Linked DNA regions of Homo sapiens: regions 1, 3, 4, 5 and 6 are each linked to region 2. The links are contacts of gene promoters, found by promoter capture Hi-C in blood cells and fetal thymus (Javierre and others, 2016). All regions are on one chromosome and are shown on one strand. The core of a region is centred on a gene start or on the middle of the fragment in contact, and the rest is flanking DNA. Distances in the headings are between cores, read along the strand shown.

Evidence for each region. Contacts are between HindIII fragments. The CHiCAGO score rates a contact against its expected background, and 5 or more counts as called.
Region 1: a contact is called between the fragment with the promoter of NFYB here and the fragment with the promoter of DEPDC4 in region 2, in 1 of 17 cell types (neutrophils). The highest score is 7.3, in neutrophils.
Region 3: a fragment that was not itself captured here is called in contact with the fragment with the promoter of DEPDC4 in region 2 in 1 of 17 cell types (neutrophils); the score reaches 5.2 in neutrophils.
Region 4: a contact is called between a fragment that was not itself captured here and the fragment with the promoter of DEPDC4 in region 2, in 1 of 17 cell types (total CD4 T cells). The highest score is 6.7, in total CD4 T cells.
Region 5: a fragment that was not itself captured here is called in contact with the fragment with the promoter of DEPDC4 in region 2 in 1 of 17 cell types (fetal thymus); the score reaches 5.9 in fetal thymus.
Region 6: a fragment that was not itself captured here is called in contact with the fragment with the promoter of DEPDC4 in region 2 in 1 of 17 cell types (non-activated CD4 T cells); the score reaches 5.8 in non-activated CD4 T cells.

Annotation. Positions count from the first base shown.
Region 1 is chr12:104,136,773-104,139,558 of GRCh38, reverse strand. It overlaps NFYB (nuclear transcription factor Y subunit beta), which reads left to right and starts at 1,349. Exons shown (of 8, transcript NM_006166.4): 1 at 1,349-1,418. RefSeq lists enhancers at 612-781, 1,605-2,196, 2,197-2,786 and silencers at 1,166-1,465, 1,516-1,615, 1,716-1,795, 1,856-1,985. The HindIII fragment of the contact is 8,431 bases long and covers 1-2,786 here.
Region 2 is chr12:100,265,629-100,268,328 of GRCh38, reverse strand. DEPDC4 (DEP domain containing 4) reads left to right here and starts at 1,250. Exons shown (of 10, transcript NM_001364818.2): 1 at 1,250-1,409. The coding sequence starts at 1,253. SCYL2 (SCY1 like pseudokinase 2) reads right to left here and starts at 1,152. Exons shown (of 18, transcript NM_017988.6): 1 at 537-1,152. RefSeq lists enhancers at 518-577, 588-657, 1,328-1,407 and silencers at 728-807, 908-957. The HindIII fragment of the contact is 4,398 bases long and covers 303-2,700 here.
Region 3 is chr12:105,103,430-105,106,156 of GRCh38, reverse strand. The region is part of intron 1 of LOC414300 (a long non-coding RNA gene); the gene reads left to right. Among named protein-coding and RNA genes, the nearest start is that of WASHC4, 2.9 kb to the left of the region's middle. The HindIII fragment of the contact is 1,044 bases long and covers 729-1,772 here.
Region 4 is chr12:96,031,005-96,033,736 of GRCh38, reverse strand. The region is part of intron 1 of LTA4H (leukotriene A4 hydrolase); the gene reads left to right. Among named protein-coding and RNA genes, the nearest start is that of LTA4H, 3.2 kb to the left of the region's middle. RefSeq lists an enhancer at 686-855. The HindIII fragment of the contact is 170 bases long and covers 1,332-1,501 here.
Region 5 is chr12:96,909,045-96,912,075 of GRCh38, reverse strand. NEDD1 (NEDD1 gamma-tubulin ring complex targeting factor) reads right to left here. Exons shown (of 16, transcript NM_152905.4): 3 at 2,181-2,324. The coding sequence starts at 2,316. Among named protein-coding and RNA genes, the nearest start is that of NEDD1, 3.3 kb to the right of the region's middle. The HindIII fragment of the contact is 441 bases long and covers 1,167-1,607 here.
Region 6 is chr12:95,861,139-95,864,054 of GRCh38, reverse strand. It overlaps SNRPF (small nuclear ribonucleoprotein polypeptide F), which reads right to left. Exons shown (of 4, transcript NM_003095.5): 2 at 2,762-2,887. Among named protein-coding and RNA genes, the nearest start is that of SNRPF, 3.6 kb to the right of the region's middle. The HindIII fragment of the contact is 5,419 bases long and covers 1-2,916 here.

The sequences.
Region 1 (2,786 bases), core at 100-2,599, 3.9 Mb before region 2:
CCACCACCACGCCCGGCTAATTTTTGTATTTTTAGTAGAGACGGGGTTTCGCCATGTTGGTCAGGCTGGTCTCGAACTCCTGACCTCAGGTGATCGGCCTGCTTCGGCCTCCCAAAGTGCTGGGATAACTTTTTTTTTTTAAAGGGCTTTCTATGTATACATTATCCCAAACAACCCTGAGAAGCAGACATTTGGCCAAGATCACAAGCCTGTAAGAAGGGGAGTTGGAATTCAAGTCAGGTTGTCTGATGACAGTGGCATTGCTACTTACTCCTCTTGTCACAATTTGGGGCTTTCATTTGTCTTTTCTTCCATACTTGCCGCAGAAATGTTTAAATACTCTGAGAAACAGTAGGAACTCTATAAATAAAAGATCTCTGTATTTTTACATAATCAAAGCTGGAGAGTTTAATGTGGTGCAGGCCACTCGGTTAGTGGAAGCAGAGGGCATGCCATCCCCAGCTCCGGTTGCAGTGAGTGGATCCAGTGTTGGATTACCCACCTCTGGGATGGTCACTGCTAAGCGAAGCTGAACTCAGGACTGCAGTTTGAGAAAGACAGCGAAGGAGCTTGGCTGCACAGAGGCAAGAACGGGCCACGGATTCTTGCAGCCAAAATGTCATCTGGTTGGGAAAAGCCGCTTGTCAATCTGCAGCTACTAGAGGGGTGGGGGTGGGTGGAAAATGCAGCATCTTAAGTTCAAGATTCAGGGTGAAGGCTGGCTAGACTTAGCAGGGGTCTGCATCTTTAGATGAAATGTGAAAAACACCCAAGCTCAGGGACCAAATGACAGGGAGCGCTGTGCATGCGGCGACGCTAACAGGGACCCAAGGAAAGAAAACACGAGGCGCTGAAGGCGCTCCAGGAGGCCCCCGCCGTTCAGACCCTCCCGGTGGCTCGGGCGCGTCGTCCTAGGGGGCGGCTTCTGTCCTTGGTTTCCCCTTCTTAAAAATCCAGGCGCAGGCAGGCTGAGCTCAGGCGGCTGAGGCACCTCCACGTGGCGGGGGAAGGGGTGACAAAGAGAGGGACGCCCGAGAGATCCCGCTTCGCACAGGCCCGGGTCAGCACCGGGAAGGAGGCCCGCCTAGACCCGAACGGCGCGCCCGGGCAGGGCCCTGGAAGACCTCGCGCCTAGAGGAGCGGCATCCGGAGCGGCGCGGAGGCCTCACAGGAACGCGGGACTGGGCCGGGGGCGGGGCGGGGCCGGGGGCGGGGCGGGGCGGGGCGGGGCCGCGGCGGGCGGGCGCGCGGGCGGCGCGGAGGGAGGGTGTCGCGCCGAGGGAAGCGGCCCGCGGCGGAGGGAGGGGAGGCCGAGTCCTGGAAGCGGAGCTCCGCGCTGGGACTGGTTCCTTCGCAGCCATTTTCTGTCCAACCAAACAGCCGATTGGAGACGGGAGCCAACCAGGGCTGCATTGGAGGTTTGTGTCTCGCTTCGGCCAATGATCGCTCCTAAACCGACTCCACTTTAGCTCGAATGAAATGTCCGTCTCCTCCCGGCGCCGTCCCCGCCGCCAACGCCGCCGCGGCCGGGGGCACTAGCCTCCCGCCCTCCCGCGCGGGCCGAGGCCGGGCCCCGCGCCTGCGAGGCCGCTCCCGCAGCGGGCCGGGCCGGGGAGCGGGCGCGGGGCCGCGGCGCGGCTCTTTGTGCGCCGGGCTGAGGAGCGGCGGGACGCGGGCCAGGCCACCTCACCCTCGCCGCCGTTGAGCTCCGGGCCCGGGGCCGAGGAGGGGCCGCGGGGCTGCGTCGGGGCCCCGCTCTCGACGGCGTCCCGGGCCGGCTCCATTTTGTGCGGGGAGCCGGCCGAGGGGCGGGAGACGCGGCCCGGGCCCTGGCCCCGTAGCCCCGGCGGCGGCGCGAGTCCCCGGGGGCGCCCTCCTCCCGCCCGCGGGGCTGTGGCGGGGCCCGGCGCTTTGTCTGCCCGCACATCCCGGGGGCCGCGCGGCGGGTGGGAGGCAGGCGTTGGGCGCGGGGCCGGGGCGGCCGGGCGAGTCAGGGGATGCGCTCTGGGGGCGGCCTCCTGGCACTCGCAGGGCTGACAGGTCGCCGGGACCAGGCCGTGGGGCCGGGGCCACCCAGGCACCTGCGTGGGGAGGAAGGCATGGCTTTAGCTTCCCCGCAGCCTGGTTTGCGCGTAAAGAATGCAGCCATCTGGCGGTTTGCGGTCCCTGTACTTGCCCCGAAGGTGGGAAGGAAGCCCTTCGGATTGGACTAAGGTTTTAATCATTAGTGGTGGGAGGCGGGAGGATATGCAGGGCCTTAAAGAACGGTAGTCTTAGAGAACAAAGAATTACAGAGCACCCACAAATCGTAATCTCGCCCAAAGCACTCTAACAGGATAATTTAAACAAGGTTAGGTAGCCTGCGACCTTTAAAAAAATGGCATCCCACTAACCCGCATGGACCCCATAGTTGCGTGGTTCGTGCTACAAATCACTGGGGTGGTTTCATCTCTCTTAGTATGGAAACTAATCAGCAACATAAAGTGATGAAAGCAAACGGATCAATATCAGTGGCACTAATCAGTGGGGGGTTTATTTGTAAAGTATTGAAAGTTTAACCAAAATTCCTTAAAAGGCAAATTATTCCTTCCCTGCATTGCTCTTGTATCTTAATTTAAGGATTACTGTATATTGATGCAAAACTCTGGTTGTTGATGCCAAAGAATGGAGGGTGGAGGAAGGGACTACTGCTTTTCTTGGATACAAATTTGCATTTCTTAAAACATTAAACAGATGTATGCATTCCCTTGAGCTTTTACATATATCAACCTGCCCTTAAGAAAATA
Region 2 (2,700 bases), core at 1-2,500:
ACAGTGGCAGGCTGATTTGGAGCATTTTTGCTAAACTATTTATTTTTCAGAACGGAGATAGGCTACTTAGAAAACTCACTCATAGTATCCAATGTTTTTAGAAAGTGTCATCACAAATAATTCCTGAGTTTGACGTACTAAAAAATAGTTGACACCTTCCAATGAAGTCACTACAGGCATAGCGCTTTTAAGCAGCTTGTCTGGAGCCTCCTCGAGTGCCTTAGAGGGTGGATTTGATAATATGGCCTCCTTAATTACGGATCACAGGTATGTGCTCAAAGTCCAATAAGTTTTTGCAAGCTTTATCGGTCTAAACCCTCCTCCATCCGTATTCTCCCGTTTAGAAAAACAAGACTGCAGGAGTAACCGTGGGGTTTTTTCTCTTAACAAAACCCCTGCCCCACCCACCTCACACACAATAACCTTCCATTCCAGAACTAAAGCTACTGTCAGAGAAGGACGGCGGGCGGCAGGGCCCTGGCTGGTGACCCAGGCTACCGGATTCCGGACCTCAGAACTGAGGTGAACTCTCTCACCCGGTCCTAGAGTAGTGTCCAATGTCCCCGAAAGGTACTACGTTCTCCACCACCGAAACCCGAGCTCTCGAGCCGGCATGGGGGGCTCTCCCTCCGGCAGCTGACTTCGATCCCGGGTCTCCCGTCGCCTCAAGGCCTCTTTCGAGGACTCGGCCCTCTCGGATCCGCTCCCCGGAGCTCGCTGCTCGTCCAGCCCCGCTTTGCGCGGGCGCCGACCGCCGATCGCCCGGCCGGCCGCCGGCAGGCCCGTCACCAGGCAACACCCACCAGCCTGAGCGGCCCTGGGAGGCCTAACCCGGGCGCGAGTCCTCCATTCCCTCCTCGCCGGCTCCGGGAGCCCAGGCGAGAGAGCCGCCGGTGAGGGAGGTCGGTCGGTGCCGGCGGCCGGTCACTTACCTCTTCCTTCTTCCAGGAGGGGCGGTGCTGGGGCTCTTTCCCCCCGCCCCCCTAATAAACGCCTCCTGGCTGTTCCTGCTCTGCCTTCGTGCCTGGCCACTGACTCTGGCTTTACTCCATATCCTCCGCCGCCCCCGCGGCCGCAAACGTCGGAGCTAGAAGGAAAGGGGTGGGGAGGGGAGGGACCGGGGACGAAGAGTAAGGGAGGGGGAAAAAGACTAAAAGACCTGCCGGCCGGGGGCATGACGTCACTTCCTGCCGGTTCGGAAGAGGCGGAGCCAGTACTTCTCTCCGCCCCGGGTGTCAGGTGGGGCGGGGCTATGGTGCCAGGGGAGGAGCCAGCGCGCGAGCTTATGGCGGTTCTTTTGACTCCGAGGTTCCGTAGACTTGTCAGTCAGAACGAGCTTCCGGGCCCAGGGCTGAACGGGCCAAGTTCCAGGAACCGTAGAGATGGCTTCTGCCGGAAAAGGAGGACAGGTAGCCCTGTATATCCTAGCCAAATGTGCAGTGAAGGTGGAGGGGGCAGCTGAAGGGAGCAGGCGGCTGGGACTCTGCTCCTCATTGGTCCAGGGCCCCGCCCATTTCCTAGCCCCGCCCCCTTCCTGCCCTACCAGGCACTGGACTGGGGGACCCAGGACTGAGGCTTTTTAGGGGTTACTGTGGTGAAGTGCCCTTGGAGCGTGCAGGAAAGCGTTTTTTCTCAAACTTTAATATACATACGAATCCCTAGGATCTTGTGAAAGTGCAAATTCTGATTGAGGAGTAGGGTCTGATAATCTGCGTTTCTAATACATGTCCAGATGGCACCAATGCTGCTGGTCCCTAGGCTACACTTACAGCAACAAGGGGTTAATGTACTAGAGGGCAAATTCCTTGAGCTAGAGGAGTTATTTCTTTAATCTAGCCTACTTGTTTAATGAAGGTTAGAGAGGTAGACTGTCTATGGAAAACAGGCTGTACCGCTGTATTTTCCACCTACCCCGTCGAGTACCCTCCTGCCCACCTCCGCCCATCACTTTCTGGCCTCCCCTCCTCAGTCTCCGCTCTGCCCACAATGTCTGGGGATAAGATTTCTTGAGTGATTAGACGGGTAACTTCTGTTACAGAAGGAATTTGAGGGTGGTGGATTTTTATTTCTGTCATTTTATCGTAAACATATGTATAGTTGGGCATACTTTTGCGGTTATGCATAGTTGGAGAAGAGAGCTTAAGTTCTTGGATTCTACCCACTTCCCCCTGCAAATCTAGAAAAAACATTCTAGAAGTTCTAAGTTATTCCCTTATCATTCTTTAATTTTTTTAATTAATTTTAATTAAATTTAATTTTAATTAAAATTTTACTGGGGTACGGAAGAATGAAGAATGACTGCGAACTATAGGTTTCTTTGTGGAATGATGCAATGGTCTGAAATTAGATAATAGTGATGGCTGCACAACTTTGTGAATGTACTAGAAACACTGAATTGTACACTTTAAAAGGGTACATCCTCTTTCATCAGCCACCATTACAATCCTTCTTCCCCAAGGTTACTCGTTTGAAGTTTATTCTTCCAGATCTTTCTATTTATTTACATACATTTTTACATAGGTTGGGAATTCATTTTTACCTAAGTAGGATAATAATATACAAGTTGTTCTGCTCAGCTCATTTTTAAAAAATTTTTGTTTTGGGTTTTTCTTTTTCCCTACTTAATGAGATCCTTGCACACTATAAACATAGCTCTACTTCATTCTTTCTAATGGCTGGCTACTATTCTATAGTAAGGGT
Region 3 (2,727 bases), core at 1-2,500, 4.8 Mb before region 2:
TTTAACCTCTGCCTCAATTTCCTCATCTATAAAATGAAAATAAAATAAAACTAGTAAACACCTTGTGGGATTCTTACGAGGACTAAATTAGTTAATACATATAAGGTACATAGAACAATACCAACCACATACTGTACCAGGTTGCTATTATGAATCAATATAGATTTATCTTAAAAAGATCTCAGAAGTCCCAGATCTCACAAGTCCCAGTGTGGTGGCTCATGCCTGTAATCCCAGTACTTTGGGAGGCCAAGGTGGGTGGATCACTTGAGGTCAGGAGTTTGAGACCAGCCTGGGCAACGTGGTGAAACCCTGTCCCTACTAAAAATATAAAAATTAGATGGGCATGGTGGTGCCTGCCTATAGTCCCAGCTACTCTGGAGGCTGAGGCAGGAAAGTCGTCTGAGCCACTACACTCCAGCCTGGGCAACAGAGCAAGACTCCATCTCAAAAAAAAAAAAAAAACTCAGGGATTTTCTGTCTTGATCTTAAATATGTTTAAATCAAATTTCACAGCCTATAATTTCAAATTTTGTTAGAGAATTACAAATTAGATACCAAATAGAAAAGCACATTCACTAAATGAAAAGTGCTATCTGAAAGTTATTTATAAAAATGTCCTATTGTTCTTAGACGTAGTCTGCAGAAGGCAAATCATTATTTTAAGTAATCACATATTCTTCATTCTACTACTCTTCATTCACACGGTACTTTCTGAAAAGCAAGCTTGGAAATAGAAGGAGAAACTTTTCATATGGGCAATATTGTGCTATTCTGAGAGCTTCTGTGAACTTTAGAACAGCTGCCTACAGAAGGTGCCTGCCTGCCAGTTCCTAGGAATCTGTGCCTTTAACTTACAGCCCCATATACCCACACCTTAAGTTCTAGTTTATTCCATACCAAAATATTTTACATATATGTTATATAGCTAAGTTCTTGGTGAATTTGTTTATTAACTTACATTAAAAGTCTTCTTCCAACTGCTATTCACCCCAGCAATCCCATTACTGGATTTTTACCCAGAGAAATGTAAATCATTATACCATGAAGATACATGCATGGGAATGTATCTTCCCATTGCAGCACTATTCACAATAGCAAAAACATGGAGTCAACCTAAATGCTCCTGAATGACAGATTGGATTTTTAAAATGTGGTACATATATACCATGGAATACTATGCAGCCAAGAAAAAGAACGAGATCATAGCTTTTGCAGGAACATGGATGGAGCTGGGGCTGTTATCCTTGGCAAACTTAGCACAGGAACAGAAAACCAAATACCACATGTTCTCATTTATAAGTGGGAGCTAAATGAGGAAAGCTCATTAACACAAAGAAGGAAACAACAGACACTGGAGGCTAACTGAGAGTGGAGGGTGGGAGTGGAGAGAGGAGCAGAAAAGATAACTATTGGGTACAGGGCTTAATACCTGGGTGATGAAATAATCTGTACCACAAACCCCCGTGACATGAGTTTACCTATGTAACAAACCTTTACATGTACCCCTAAACCTAAAATAAAAGTTTAAAATAAATAAATACAATCTAAAATAAATAAAATCTTCTTCCTACAATAGAAATTCTATGGCAATAACTCACTAGAGACATTTCACTTAGTAGTTTGTCACAGAATCCTGCGTGTATCTGTTTAAAAAATTCCTAATATGTTAATTCATGTATTTATTTACAAAGTAATCCCTCACTTGAACAACCACTATAGATGTGTGACAGGTCTTCTCTCTCCACTGTCCACATTCTCTGTGTGAAGCTTCTCGAAACCTATCTGATCAGGTCATGCCCTTTTAGATCCTTCCCATTGCCTATGGTATGGAATTTATGCTTCATAGCATGTAACTCAAGGCTTCTTCCAATCTGCCCTTTTATTTAAGGGATCCTAAAATCCTTGTACTGGTTGGTTATCAGTGATTGTGGAATCATATAGATTACCACTATATGTATTTTTAGTAGAGACGGGGTTTTGCCATGTTGGTCAGGCTGGTCTTGAACTCCTGACCTCAGGTGATCCGCCCACCTCGGCCACCCAAAATGTTGGGATTACAGGAGTGAGCCACTGCGCCCAGCCTAGATTACCGTTATATCTAATTCCCTGAATTCCTGGTTGGACCAAGTGCTTCGGCCCTGTGCTTCCATGGTATTTACCACTTCAAAGTTATCTATTGACATAATTATCTTCACTATTAAGTTATGTATTAGTTTCCTATTGCTGCTGTAGCAAATTGTCACCAACTTAGTGGTTAAAAGAGTACAAATTTATTATCTTCTAGTTCTAGAGGTCAGAATGCCAAAATCAGTCTCACTGGGCTAAAGTAAAGGTGTTAGTAGGGCTGATTCCTCTTGGACACTAAGAATCTATTTCTTTGCCTTTCTCATCTTCTGTGCATTACTTGAACCTCTTGTTTCTCCCATCACATTTCCTACTATTGACTGATTCACCTGCCTTCCTCTTATAATGACCCTTGTGATTACATCAAGCTCACACAGATAATCCAGGATAATCTCCTTATCTCAAAAATCCTTACCTTAATCATATCTGCAAAGTCCTTTTAAACATGTAAAGTAACATATTCACAGGGTGTAGGGATTAGGACATGAACATCTTTGGGCACCTGTTATTCAGCCTAATACAGACCATCAGCTCTTTGGTATCAGGGACCATGATTTATTCCCACATTCCACAGTCCCTGATACATGTTAAGCACTCAGA
Region 4 (2,732 bases), core at 167-2,666, 4.2 Mb after region 2:
ACACCAGGGCCTGTTGGGGGTAGGGGCCTAGGGGAGGGATAGCATTAGGAGAAATACCTAATGTAGCTGACGGGTTGATGGGTGCAGCAAACCACCATGGCATGTGTATACTTATGTAACAAACCTGCACGTTCTGCACATGTACCCCAGAACTTAAAGTATAATAATAAAAAAAGAAAAACCACACTGTGAGACTGCCATATTTGAACATGAGTTTATACGTCCTACATTCAAAAGTACTAGAGATTTAAAAATTAAGCAATTCAGGACACTTGTGTTCAGATGTGAATAATTGCAAACCAAAACCGAGGTCGCTAGTGGAAGAAATTTAAAGAGGTTTTTCTAATATATGAACAGCAAATTCTTCCTTGAATCTTTAGCTGCAACATATATTTCAGAAGAAATATTCCAATTGGTTTAAGATATAATAAAACCTTGACTAAGCCCCAAACCCACTCAAAGCTCTTAGTTAACTGGAAAGTTCTTGTTCTTCACCTTTATTTAAAAAAATTAAATTATAAACTATGCTGATAAAAGTAAAAGAATGAAAATTTTTATAGCTTTTTGCTGCTTAATGTGACCTCACACTTACCTTTGTTTTGTAAAATAAAAACTTAAAAAATTTATTATTTGAAGTTCAGGTGTACTTCAAATGTGCAGGTTTGTTACATAGGTAAACTTGTGTCATGAGGGTTTGTTGTACAGATTATTTTGTCACCCAGGTATTAAGCCTAGTACCCATTAGTTACTTTTCCTGATCCTTTCCCTTCTCCTACCCTCCACCCTCCAGTAAGCCCCAGTGTGTGTTCCCCACTGTGTATCCATGTGTTCTCATCACTTTTGTAGAATAAAAACTTTATCTCTGTTCTATAAGTAAGCAAGAGTCAGGATGTTTAAATTTTGAAAAGAATGTCCCAATCTAAAAATCTGCTCATTGTTTTTACATTCCCCAAATCTAGAGAAAAGTAAGATTTTAAAATAGTGATTTCTGGTTGGCATGTCTGTTTAGCAAATTAGAGCCTGGAATTATAATAATGTTACATGTTATACAAGGAAGGCAATTTATGGTACAAAATAACATGTTTATAATTGTTTGCTTATTTATGACAAAAGCCTTAGACCAGGAGCTTATCCTTATTAATTAGTTAATTAGTATTTATTTAAAGTTAACTTGTTTCTTTCCTCCACTAGATTGTGGACTCTTGAATGTAGAGACTGTGTTTCATAACTCTTTGTATCTCAGCTTCCTAGTATAGTCTATGTCTGGCATGTAGAGGACATTCAAAAGTTTGATTAATGGATGATTTCAATTAGAAAACAGTGCCTAAGCTTAACATGGGCTACATTGATAATAGTGCCAGCTGTATTTCAGAGGTGAGATGGGAAGACCCAGTGCCAGTGCGGAATCAGGAGAGACGTCATGTCTTCTTTTCCTCTCCGTTCTTAGAGTTTGTGATGTTGAGGAATGCTGAAGGAGACTTAATCGGACAAATTCTAAGCTTTCTAAAATTCTTTTCAAGTTTTGGGTTATTTACACTGAAGTTTGATCCTCCAAATTTATGATAACTTTCATACATTTGTTTCTTTTCACTGAAACCTTCAGAAATGTTTAGGTGTTCTTTTGGTTAGTGGCTCAAGAGGTTTTAGTGCCATGGCCAAGGCAGAAGCCAGCAGTTAACAATAGGTAATTCTGACTGCAAACCATCTTGTTTTCACTAAGTAAATGTCTCAACTGGGAATCAAATCAAGGTGGTTTTTTAGTTTTAGCTTTGTGTTTCACACATAAACCTATTTTTTTTCATCATATCCCTGCACATAGCAAGTAGAAAATGTAAATTTAGACATCATAATGAGGCATAAAGCTTTTTTTAAAAAAACTCTGCTTTGTTCTAGAAAGGACTGAGACTGCTTGAAGCAACATATATAGTATAAGATTAAAAATAATTAAATAATTTGCAGGAAGAGAGAATAGGGATAGGAGAAACAAAACCCATGGCATAAAGCCCTCTATACTTTAAAAGAAGTGGGCCACAGGGTTGACATGGAGCTTCCTACCAGCCTGTGCAAAAAAGGAATCAGATACCTATTCCATGTCAACTGACCAGCTACTGAGAAGTACAACTGCTTTTTAGGGGGATGGAGGGTATTGTTCAAAGAGGATACTGTGAAACATATAAATTATATCCTATAATTAGTAGAGCTGTTGATGCTTAACACGTTTCTTAAAAAGTACTAAATCCAACTTGTCAACAATCCAGTTTTCTTTATTTTTCTTTCTTATTACAGTTTTTGACTATTTTTTAAAAATAACATCGCTGAAATTTGAAGGGGAATTTTAAAAAGTAGTTTGCAAATGATAGTTGAGACTTAGGACTTGAGATAATACAGCTTAAACATTGCATTTTTTGTTTTCTCTTGGTCTAGGACCTGCTTCATGCATTAATTGACACCTAGTGTTTTTGAGGCAGAGTGCTAAACCCTGGGAATACAGACCTAAGTAACATTCTCTGTTTTAGAACCCTTAGTCTAATGGAAAAAGAAATCATTATAATGCAGTACAGTAAGTATTATAGGAAAGGGTAGGGCCAAGAGCTATAACAGACACAGGGGATATCAAAACGTTTCACAAAAAATAGTTGTCACTATGACACTTCTGATTCTGAACAGATTTGGAAAGTTTAGCCAATATAGAAAACAGAATATGTTCCACTGGGAAATGACCCAGTTAATTC
Region 5 (3,031 bases), core at 138-2,637, 3.4 Mb after region 2:
TGGAACAATCAGTAAACACAAAACAGTAACTATTTTAAAACTAAAATGATTAAATACAATAATATAACTAAGAATAAGAGTCTGATTTTGAGAGCCATAACAAATTAAAATATCAGAAGTTTAAATCTGTGCTTTTTAGCAATTAAAATCTGTGAGTAAAAGCAATGGAGAAAGGTTAATTAGACACTCAGAATCCCTAACTGCATTAACTTTTGAATGTTCTGTATAACTTTCAGGTATTTTGTAAACAGAGCATAGACTGTAATTTTATTATGATACATGATGCAAATCAAATCATTCCTACCTAGATATTACCATAGCGAGAAAAACCATTTCCCTTTCCTTGACTTCTTCCTGTTTACCACTACTTTTCTCCTTAGAATATAGAAAAAAAAGGACTGAAACATAATGTGGGTGGGTAATCTAGTTCTTTTTTATTTCTCTTGTAGTTTTAGAAATCATGAGAAAGTGAGGAACGTAAGTTAAAGGACAAGAAACAAAAAACTAATCTCTCTGGTGTCTCACATTAACCCCATTCTTGGAATCTATACTATGTGGACCCCAAGTTGCTAAGGCTGGGAACTCCTTGTTCTTCAGTAATTAACCTCCATGGAAGTGATCAAAGCCTTATTAAGAATAAGACTGTATGAAGGCTTTCAGTGCACATCTGCTCATGCAAGAAAACTGTAAGACCAATTTCCAAAAGTCATACAACACTATCTCATAGCTACATCAGTTTTGTTGTTAGACTATTAAGTAGCACATCAGTAAATGCCAACTCCTAGTAAAACTTAAAACAAAAGTCAACCAAAAAATAATCTTACTACAAATTGCTACCTTTCTCTTATATAGTAAGAGGGAAAATTAAGCTCTAAACATAATGAAAATCTAAAAATAGAGAACAGCAACTTCATATACTTGTCGCTCTCTTTAAAATATTTTCCCTATTACACATCTGGAAAGTCCTTCAAAAATGTAGTCACTTCACCATGAGTTTGATTAACAGAGTACCAAAGTAATTTGTTTTACTGCAAAATCAAGGAATGATAAGGAGGTAAATTTAATTCAGTAAGAAAATTTGTCCTTCTTGTTATATACATGCAAGAATAGTAAGTCATATAAAACTTTTAATATTTTTGTTCCTGAACCAGTCACATTTTAAAGCTTTGATTTTTTTATCAGAAAGTAGAATACTTTGGTGTTGATAAAAATCAGATAAATGTTAAATCTTAATTTGTTAAGAAATAGCGTATGAGTTTCACAAAAGAAAATTTCTAACATACCAATTACATAAAACATTTTCACATAAAAGGTGATAGGAGCACTGTGGTCACAGCAGTGGTTCTCTACTGGGAGTGATTCAGGCAATTCTGGAAACGTTTTGGGTTGTCACAACTAGAGGCTATTGGTACCTAACGGGTGAAGACCAATAAACCTCCACGTGGTACAACATACAGGAAAGGTCCACAACAAATTTTCTGCCCCAAAAAGTCAATAGCACAGGGTTCAGAAACCCTAGTTTACAGTCTTCACTCCCTCATTTTATTTTATCCACATTGAGGAGCTCACCAAGACAGGGAAGGTGTCAATCAGAAACATAAAAAGCTTAGAAAAGTTCAATCTAGGTAACTTTACTATGTCTGTTTAGGAAATGTAATTTTCATCACACACACAGAGAGGAAGGAAGATATGGAGAGTACATTAGTAAGATGGAGATATTGGGCAATTTTTTATCTCCTCCCCAACTTGCTTCTGCCTTCAAGTTCTGTCTTTAATTTTCAGTTCAGATCCACAAATACCCAAATGTAGATGCAAAAACTCATTCCAAAACCTTTTGGAATTATTTCCACAACTACCAACCTTATTCCATTTGGTTCAATAAGAAATTTTTGATAACTAATTCTATGGTGTAGACAGAATATACTTTTTTTAATAGCAGTGTTTTCAAATGAAGTGGGTTGTAACTAAATTTTTTTTAAATGAACGCAACAGATAAAATCAGAGTGCATTCATATGATATATTGTTTTGTAAATTACTATTTTACGTTATCTATCCTTGGTAGCAATGCAAAACACATTACTCAGTATGAGGCACATGCAAAAGTTTCATTGACAGTGGTTGTTTAACCTAATAAGCGGTTTGTGTGTGTGTGTGTGTGTTTTTTTTTTTTAAAGGATACTATTGCTGCTCCAACATATTGAGCTGATTCCATGTGGTGATGTGTGTGGGTTGAATTTATCCACCAATGTCATAGATGAAGCATCCCATATTTTAATATCATCTCCTGATGAAGCAAATCTGAGGTTTTCCTGCATGACTGCGCCTACAAATAGTTTAAAACAATGTATTTTAAAAACATTTAAGAATAGACATACTCAAAAAAAGGTCAAAATCTAATCTAAAACAAGTGGCTCTAACTCATTCATTTTTGTTCCAAACAGTGCAGTCACCAAAGCAGTTGAAGTGATTTTCCTAAAACATAAGCCAGGTCGCATTCTCTTAGCTGACCCTTCCAATGGCTCCTCACAGTAATGATAATGAAATCCAGCCTCCTTAGCCTGCCTTACATGTCCTGGCCCCCATGTAACTCTCCTCTTTCTTTTCACTGGCCTTCTCTCTGCCTCATGCAAAGGCAAAGTCATTCTCACCTCAGTGTCTTTTCATTTGCTGCTCCCTGTGCCTAAGATGTTCTCCCCAGATTCCCATGGTCATCTCCTTCTCATCATTCAGGTCTTAGCTCAAATGTTTCCTCCTATGAAAGGCCTTTCCTGACCACCCTGGCTAACGCAGTCCCTTCCTTACCTGGTAAGGGACTTAGCAGTTTACCCTATATCCCAATACCTGATTTCATTTTTTTCATAGCACTTCCTAATATCTGAATTTTTTTTTTTTTTTTTTGAGACGGAGTTTCACTCTTGTTGTCCAGGCTGGAGTGCAATGGTGTGATCTCGGCTCACCACAACCTCCGCCTTCCAGGTTCAAGTGATTCTCCTGCCTCAGCCTCCCGAGTAGCTGGGATTACCGGCATGC
Region 6 (2,916 bases), core at 402-2,901, 4.4 Mb after region 2:
TTAAGAGCAACTAATTTTTTGTAAAAAGTAATTACAACATTTAACATTTCTAAATTACACAATAATGTTCCAAATACTTTCTATCATGTTCTTCACCATCACTTAACAGGCTCTCTATGGCCGCCATTTTAACCTAACTTTCTGTCATTCGTCCCTTAACTCAATCTGCTCTGGCCTTTTTGCTGTGCCTTGAACACACCAAGCATGCTTCTGCCACAGGGCCTTTGTACTTGCTGTTCCCTCAAACTGGGATGCTTTTCCCCAGATACTCAACTGAGTTGTACACTAATTCTGGTATCTTCCAGAATTCGCCTCCTCAGAGAGGCTACTCTATATAATATTGCACATACTGTCTTCCCCCTTTTCTTCATGGATGGCATCTATCATGCCTATTATCACATTATATTACCACCTCCCACCACTAAACCATAAACTGTTGAGGGCAGGGACTTTGTTTTGTTCAATGCTATATTCACAGTGCCAGGCACATAATGGAATTCAATAAATATTTGCTGAGTGAACAAATTCAAACACTGGTATCAATATGGTTGACTACTCAAAGTGGTTGGTTACTCAGACATTTTGCAACTCTAGCAGGGTCACTAGCAAGCTATATTAATTCTAAAACAAATATTAAGTGGTAATTCTTTTATTATTGAGATGTTAATTTCCATAGCATAAAATTCACCCTTTTAAAGTGTACAATTCAGTGGTTTTCAGTATATTCAAAAACCTGTGCAACTATCACCACTACTTCCAGAATATTTTCATCACAATTCATATACTTCCCAGATTTTTCTATGGTCTTGGTAAATGACTCCTGTTTAAGGAATTTTCCACACTCAAACTATGCTTTGGGGGCCTTAATGTCATGTGCTCAGGTGGTAATTGCCTAAGTTAAGGAAAATCATAGCTCTCTGCCTACTTAAGTACTCCTTTTAGTACTCTGCTTACAAGTATGGAATCCTTGGATTCATGATTGGATTGACCACCTGTCTTGATAGCCTTTAAAAACCTGCCTGGAAACTACTACCATTAAAAAAACAACAAAAAATCCCAAACTAATTTTTTAAATGTGCAAAAGACATGAACAGGCATTTCTCCAAAGATAAACAAATGGCCAATAAACACATGAAAAGGTGCTCAACATCATTAGCCAAATGCAAATCAAAACCACAATAAGATACCACTTCACACCCATTAGAATAACTATTTTATAAACACCCATAGAAAATAACAAGTGTTGGTGAGGATGTGGAGAAACTGGAACCGTTGTGCATTGCTGGTGGGTATGTAAAACCACGTAGCTGCTGTGGAAAATAGTGTGACAGTTACTCAAAAGAAAAAAAAAAATTTCTCTGTCATCCAGGCTAGAGTGCAGTGATCACAGCTCACTGCAGCTTCAACCTCCCCAGGCTCAGGTAATCCTCCCAACTCAGCTTCCTGAGTAGCTGGGAATATAGCTGCCCACACCATCATGCCTAGCTAGTTTTTGTATTTTTTTTGTAGAGATGCAGTTTCACTATGTTGCCCAGGCTGGTCTCAAACTCCTGGGCTCAAGCAATCTGCTGCCTCAGCCTCCCAAAGTGCTGGGATTACAGGCATGAGCCACCACGCTTGGCCTCCTTAAAAAATTAAACATAGAATTACCAGTAATCCAGTAATTCCACTTCTGGGTATATACCCCAAAGAGCTGAAAGCAGTGACTGGAACAGACATTCGTATACCCATGTTCACAGCAGCATTATTTACTACAGTCCAAAGAGGGAAGCAACCCAGTGTCCACCAAGAGGCAAATGGATTAGAATGTGGTATATCCATATAATGGAATATTATTCAGTCATAAAAAGGAAATTCTGACACATGCTACAACATGGATGAACCTTGAATAATACACTACGTTAAGTCAAACAAGCCAGACACAAAAGGATAATACACAATTCCACTTACATGAGGTATTATGCACGGTCAAATTCATAGACATGTAGACTAGTGGTTACCAGGGGTTAGTTAGGTGGAGGAAGGAATGGAAAATTATTGTTTAATGTTTAATTGTAAAATTATTGTTTAATGGAAAATTATTGTTTAATGGGCAAAAAATTTCACTTTTGGATGGTAAACAAGTTCCAGAAATGGACAACGGTGATGGCTGCAGAACAATGTGAAGGTACTTAATGCCACTGAATTATACACTTAAAAATGGTTAGAGTGGCAAAATTGTAATGTATATTTTACCACAATAAAAAGATAATTAATTACAAAAAAACCCACCAAAACACATGGCTGAATCATTTACAGAAACTCGTTTGACAGACATACAGTCAGTTCAATTCCTTTGGCAGATCTGTCTTTCCCCTGAAGGAATGAATTTCCTCAATAGCTTTGGTGTTGTGCCTTTAGCATTCATTAAAAGACTCAATAATTTCACTTGAAAACTTTCTTTCAGGGCTAAATGATGAGAAATGTTTTGTTTTCTCCAGCAAAGTAGTGTGTTTCCCTTATGGTATTATTATGAATCAAGTGTCTGAGCTCTTCCTACTTTAACTACTAGGAATAAAATCTGTAGCTGAATTCTGGTTTAAGTCCATGTCTTGTACCTAGTATATCACAGTATCCCTCCTGGCTTTGACTTTATTTTTGAATTTTGCCGTATATTTGTCAATTTAATTGTATGTATTCTTATTAGTCAGACTAAACCTTTGAGAAATAAGGTGAAGCAAAATAAATGCAATGTTATGACCTTTACAGCTCTTTAGCTTACCTGCATGTTCATGTAGCCATCTACAGATACCAGATAGCCCTTGTACTCCATTCCCCACTTAAGTTTCACCATCACTGGCTTTCCTGTTAGTCCATTGAGGAAAGGTTTGGGATTGAGGGGTAAACTCTGCACAAAGAACAAAAAAGGATCTAATT